Linked DNA regions of Homo sapiens: region 1 is linked to region 2. Evidence: promoter capture Hi-C in human tissues and cell types (Jung and others, 2019). All regions are on one chromosome and are shown on one strand. The core of a region is centred on a gene start or on the middle of the fragment in contact, and the rest is flanking DNA. Distances in the headings are between cores, read along the strand shown.

Region 1 (3,307 bases), core at 70-2,569, 46 kb after region 2:
CAGTTGTCAGCTAAATAGCCTTAAATTTGCATATTAAAGGAAACAACTCAGGTGAAAATCAAATAGAAAAATTTGCATCATAAGGTACAGAGAGAAAAAGTCTGGTGGTCTGTTCGAATTCATAAAAATAGGGTAGTCAGAAGGAGATGATTTTATTTTTCTTTTAGCCAATCAAACATAAAATTATATAAATTTATCAATGGATTGTAAAAGGAGACCAATTTTATTTAGATAGAGACTACCTATTTTTTTTTTTTTAACTGGATCTCTGAGCTCTTGGCAGAGCCCACACTGAATCCTGGGTCTTCAAAAAATGATAATTATTTTGAGGTTAGACCATGTGATGCTTTTTCAGTGCACGTAATTTTTTTTTTTAAGTAAAGGTGCTTCTGAGTGTCTAAATTACACTCTTCATTATAAAACCCAAGAGTAGCCTCTGTTGCAATAACTATTTTAGTCAAAAAGTCAGGTGAAAATAGAATTCAGTTAACTGAGAAGAAAAATATTTTTTTGCTCAAAAAAAGGCAAGGTTCTAGGAGAGAAAAATAAACAGAAAAACCCCAAAACATGAAGGCTTTTTAAATACAAATATGCACACATTTACACATCTTGACTTTTAACCATTGAGTTCCTTAAAAAAAAAAAAAACTTTTGAAATATCATCTCCATATTTCAGCTAGGACAAAATGCTGCTATTTCAGAAGTACAGCTCTTGCTCTTTCAGTTTGGTCTGGCTGGCAAAAAGGGGCCTTGTTATATAAAGAAAGTACCTTTAGTGGTCAAAACCAAAAGCTTTCCTCTTTTTTGTTTCCTTTTGCTGGCCATTTTCCTCCCCCCACCATACCACCTTTTTTTTGTGGGTATTTAGCCACTTTAGAGACCTTTCTCCCCATTATTTAAGAGTTCACCTTTGAATTTGACCAAGTTGGTACAGGTGTTGGACCCAAAATGTGCTGCTCACAGGCCTAGCTTTTCAGGGCCGTTACCCCTTGAACTGGTTTGGTCCACCCATGTTGTGGCTACCTGGCACAGTATGTCAGGGGCTAAAGCTGTGGGAGGGGTCAGCTCCTTATATGCACCTGCTGGTTGAGATTAGACCCTAAATACATTTTTCTGAGGAGGAATCCTATTTAGAGCGGCTGCATGTCTTAGGAAGCATTCCTCCCAGACACCCTCACGTGATTCTCAGTCGCCTGAAAATGCCTTGAAAGGCTGAGGGGAGCAAGGTGCTCTTAGTTCTTCCAAGTGGAAGATTCCACACTCATGTGCTAGAGGGTTTGGAGTTGGTTGAACTCTATAAGGGAAAGGACCAAAGCACATGCACAAAAAACCCCAACAAGACAGAAACAAACAAAAAAATAGTTAAGCAAAACCAACAATGATTACACAAATTATAAGATTTTTGAGTGTTCTATGTGTAAGCAGAAATTAACATCAGCTGGTTGTTAATGCTAACTTTAATCGTTTAAAAAGAATTTTCGAGACAGAATCCCAAACCGATTTTTTTACCTAGTAATGGGGCCCAAGCTCAAAATCGCTCTCTGCTGATGCAGAGGCAGGCTTGCCTTCCTTGATGGAAAAGAGTAGAAACTCCCCCCAAAAGGAGTTTTTTAACAGCAAATAAACCTCAGACCCCCAACAAAAAAAAGTTGGAAGATCAGGGATCCCTGAAGGAAAGAGTTCCTGGGCTTCAGCAATTGTCCTATCAGTTTGGGCTATAGGTGCCCAAGCCAGTACCAAACACTGATAGACGAGCGGCTGCAGACCAGGTCATCTTTACTCAGAATTCCTTCATGGTTACCAGATGTCAATTGAGAAAAATGATGAGACAAGTCTTAATCATTTTAGGAGGTTTATTTGTCAAAGTCAAGGACACATGCCCATGACACAGCCTCAGGAGGTCCTGATGACATGTGGCCAAGGTGGTTGGGGCACAGGTTGGTTTTATACATTTTAGGGAAGCATGAGACATCAATCAATATATTTAAAAAGTACATTGGTCCCGTCCAGAAAGGCAGGGGCAACTTAAAACAGGGAGGATACTTCCATGGAGGTTACAGGTAGGGGAGAGACAAACAGTTGCATTCTTTGAGTTTCTACTAAGCCTTTCCAAAGGCAGCAATCAGAATATACATCTGTCTCAGTGAGCAAAGGGATGACTTTGAATAGAATGAAAGGCAAGTTTGTCCTGAGCCACTCCCAGCTTAACTTTTCCCTTGGTTTAGTAATTTTGGGGCCCCAGGATTTTCCTTTCATACTCTTAAAGTCTGTTGTTCTCATTTCATTAGTTACATGCCCAAGTCCAATATCTATTTCATCTGCTGGGTAGACAAAGTGGAAAAAATTGTCCGTGTTCCTACTAAGAGACCCAGTCTGATTGCTCTTCATTATCTTTTCTGAGATGGAAACAATCAGTCATACCAGCGAAGGTGGAAGGAGGAAGTGTCAGTACATTTGCAGAGCATTTTAATCTTCAGCAGGCAGTAGCAACTTGGAACATTCCTTTTCAGCAACCAAATGCACTGGGTATACCCTTCATTTTCAGTACATCTGTAGTCAGGATTTCCTGATTGGTATGCCACTTTGTTTTTAGCTTAGCATATGTAAAATTAGAAGTTGTGTGAATTGATTTTGGCAACAACGGTGTAATGAGTGACGGCTTTGAAAGCACAGAATACATGGAACTTGATAAGACAAAAGCTGAGCTTCACACAGTTGATCTTGAGTCAACAATATTGCATTAACATGGCACTAAGTCACTTAATCAAAACGATGACTTAAAACGCAATGGTAATATCTTTTTCTTAGGAGTTCTTATGTTACTTCTTAATCACAGCTAAAGACAAATAATGAAAGATCATGAAACAGCTTCAATTCCAATACTGTCTGGAACCTACTGTGGGGTCTGGGAAGAGGTTACATAAAGATGACCTTGAGTAGAAGCAGAATCTCCTTAGATTCTGAAGAGAACAATGGCAACATTTTGCTCCTCTCCAGAGTGAGGCACATATGACTATCGTCTATCTTATATTCTTCTTATTATCTTTTTAATGTTTAATTTTGATTTTTATCAAGGTATTTAGTGTACACAGTTATAAAAGTCAAATAATATTATAGTTTGCCTTAATCTCTCAACATCTTGTTTTCCAGTCCCCAGGTACAATTATATTCAATTCTTTTAGCTATTGCTTCCAGTAATTACTTACACATTTCTAATGGCATATTCATACTAATGTTTTATTATATTTTATGTTTACTTATTATCTATTGATGGTAGAAGATGAAGATTTTGTCTTCCTATACCCCT
Region 2 (3,414 bases), core at 70-2,569:
GAGAAAAACACGAAGAGCTTAAGCAGTTTATCTATGCTCTTACAGCTCTTTAGTGTCAGAGCAGTGTGTTCACCTAGAAACTGCTGTTAAAATTCCAAATGACAGCAAGTCAAGCACCGCTGCTGTTCAACAGTTTCCTTCTCACATTAAAAATGGAATAATGGATATATCCACGACTGAAAATCCTACTCAGTAATAAACAATAAACACGAACACACTGATTTAAGCAACGGACATAAAAGAATCTCAAAAACATTAGGCTGCGGGAAAGAAACCAGACACAAAAGAATACCTACTGTATGGTTCCACTTACCTAAAGGCAAAACTAACTTGGAATGATAAAAATCAGATCAGTAGTTCCCTGGAGTCAGGGGAGAGTGAGGAATACCTGGCAAATAGGTGCGTCGGAATTCAGGGGGAGGGGCGATATTGATTACAGGGTAAATACATTTGCTAAAACACACATAACTGTGTTCTTCACAATCATGTAAGATAAGGAACTTAATCCCAAGGGGCCTACTGGCACCAGACTAGAAAGATGCAGCCCTCGGGTATTCTACTTTTGCTACTTTTGTTTCTATCATGGAGAGAAGATGTTAGAAAATTTGGAAAGGAGTCTCCTCAGATGGATTTTGTGGCACCTCCTACATAGAGGTAGGGGAGGAAGTCGAAAGCCCGCCCACCCAATAGATCCAGAGGCACCGACCTTGGGAGGGGAGAAGGGTGGACAGCGGGGACACTCACCACTTAGCAGGCTCTCTGGGTGATAGCCACAGTCCAGCAATTCTGAAATGCTGGCCGGGTTCTTGCTGCTCAAACTGCCAGTTGCAACCATGGTCAACGGCTCTGTTTCCTTCGCGAGGCGCAACGGCCTTTCCTGAGCGCTGGAAAAAATGAGGCGAGAAGAGACGGATTTGCAAAAGCAGGCGAGTCGTGCAGAGGCTCCTAAAATGCCCGGCGTCCCGGGAGCGAACTAGCGGAGGAACTCCTTTGCCAAAGGGGTGGAACCGGCCTCTGCAACTCAATTTGACAAAGCCCTGGGAGCGGAGCCGCAACCTGAAACTAACTCAACAGTTCGCAAAACTTGGAAGCGACCTGCCCCGCGGAGCGCCCCCCGGCCCCGCTGCCCCCACCAAGGCCGCAGCTTCGCTCACCTGCCAGGAGTTCGCGGGGGCCTGCGCGCTCGCTGCCGGGTAAACACAGGCAGGTGGCTTCTTAGGAGTCCCCTCTCCTGGGGACTCGGTGACCTGCAGACCCCAGCAGCCAGCGGCACCCTGCTCACCCCTCCCGGGCCACCCTGCGCCGGCTCCTCGCAGTAGCATAGCCTCCGGGGCAGCGAGAACTTTATAGGTCCAGTCCCCACCCTGCTCAGGCCCGCCCACCTGCACCGCCCCTCCCCGGCCAGCGCCCCGCCCCTCCCCTCCAGAGTCTGGTCCCCTTTCAACCTCTACACTTCCAGGGAGCCCGAGCCTAGCCACAGGGAGTTGAGGATAAGCCTGTGGTAGAGCGGACACCTGTTGCTTCCAGGGTAGATCTCGGGCCACTGGGACCGCAATTCCGGGTGCACGACTCGTCAAAGCCTGAACCTGATTGTTCAGTGCGACCCCTCCCCGAGCGTCCGCGCTTTCACACTCAGGCTGCTCCCGGCAGCGGGAAGCTTTAAGCGATCTGTGCATTTCCTTGTCCTGGGGCTTTGCTGTGTCATCCTGAACACTTGGCTTAAATCTGTTGCAACGTCCACTGAGCATCATTTATGCACTTATTTCTGGCCTCTAACCCAGTCAACTCTACTCTGCCTCCCAGGGTTTCTGTATCCTCCTCTGCTGCAAGCGGTCAGATCTAGTTTTCCTTTCCCGCATCGAAGGCTCGCCAGCATTTTAAGAAGGGCCTTAATGACCCCACGCACTCCGTGGCTCCCTGGCATTCTTCGTGCACTTACATCTGTGGCTAATGCGTTTTCTTCGCAGGAAGGGTGAGCCTGGCACTCTTCTAATTAGACCTTGCCCCAGAGCGCGGGGAGCTTGAATTGAGCGGGAGTTTGCCAAGAAACACACAATACCATTAGTAGGATCTTAGGTACTCCTCTATCCGTGCATCGAGAGCAACTGTCATTTCCGGAGGCAGAAGTTTCTGGCGAGCCCTGTTGGGAGGATCTTTGGTTTGGGATATTTTGAAGAGGTTTCAGAGACTGAAGATAAAGAGTTTTATATTCTGCTGGGGATCAGCAGATAATCCCTGTGAGGGCTCCGTGCGGTCCTGCACAGGAACACACAGAGAGGCAGAGGAGCCCTGGAAAGAGGCAACATGCCCGCATAGCCCATGAGCAAGAAGCCAAACCTGATTTTTTTCTTCCAAAGTTATTAAGCCACGGTTTTCTCGCTTTGGTGTGCCAGTAGGAGATGATCTGTTCAGAGAGTCAGCTTGGGGTGCGTTAGGGGATGCCTGGAGGGAGAAGGTTGTTCCTACAGTAGAGATCCCAGTGTTGGCTCCCAGGCCCTCTAGGATTATGTGTAGAAGGATTTGCAGGTTAGAACCTTGAAAGGCAGTTTCAGCTGTCCTGGCATAAAACTCTTAGAAAAACAACAACAGAAGGGGTATAGAGGGTGTGATAAACAGATCAGTGGGAGGACATTCGGACGCAGAGCAGCAGAAATTAAAGCCAGCTTGACAGTCCATTTTTAACTCAGTTCAGGCAGCTGCACTGCCTGAAGGTCAGGCGAGCCAAGGAAGGAGATGCTGATAGACTGGTCTTTGAAGGCCAGTTTCCACTTCTACTTCAATAAACAGAAAAGTGGAAAATAAACAAGCCCATTTAAGCCAATTAAAAAGCGGTTTCAGTGGCTAGGGTGTTCAGGACCAATGGATGGGCCCATGGTCAGGAGTTGGATGCCAGCCGCCTGACAGTCAGTCCCTGGGCAGGCCACAGAGCCTCTTGTCCTTGTCTGGGCAGCATTACTAATGAGGCTGCCACTTAACCTGCCTCCAAGGAGGATTTTTAGAATTAATATAATGAGTGGTCTGAACCAATACTAGCGAAATAAAGAAATTACTCGTTTCAATTTCCTTAGGGTATTTAGGCATAATTCATAGAGTAAATGCCCCCATAGGGCCAGAAAGATTATTGGAACTTACAGAAAGTAGTAGTTGCTCTTGGCCCACCTGACTAAATGAAATTTTGCAAAGCCCTTTGGGATTTGACTTCAGAAAACAATTTACTTATGTACAAAAGACTTCAAATAATATCTTCTTGGCTGAATGGGCCTTGCTCTCAGGACATACAGGGCATAAGGAATGATTGAGGTAAAACACATACCTGGAATAATTAAGAATGTCCTTTTTTATCTACTTAAAAGCGTAGAAAATCCATTCTATCACCAGTTTGCATCTTCACAAGGTTAAACAGAACTGATTTTT

The links. Contacts are between HindIII fragments. The study calls those that stand out against the background at their distance.
Region 1: a contact is called between a fragment that was not itself captured here and the fragment with the promoter of DDIT4L in region 2, in 1 of the 25 tissues and cell types used here (hippocampus).

Annotation. Positions count from the first base shown.
Region 1 is chr4:100,234,724-100,238,030 of GRCh38, forward strand. No RefSeq gene overlaps it. Among named protein-coding and RNA genes, the nearest start is that of DDIT4L, 46 kb to the left of the region's middle. The HindIII fragment of the contact is 5,734 bases long and covers 1-3,307 here.
Region 2 is chr4:100,189,149-100,192,562 of GRCh38, forward strand. DDIT4L (DNA damage inducible transcript 4 like) reads right to left here and starts at 1,320. Exons shown (of 3, transcript NM_145244.4): 1 at 1,155-1,320; 2 at 745-884. The coding sequence starts at 835. DDIT4L-AS1 (DDIT4L antisense RNA 1) reads left to right here and starts at 885. Exons shown (of 5, transcript NR_125924.1): 1 at 885-926. The HindIII fragment of the contact is 5,141 bases long and covers 1-3,414 here.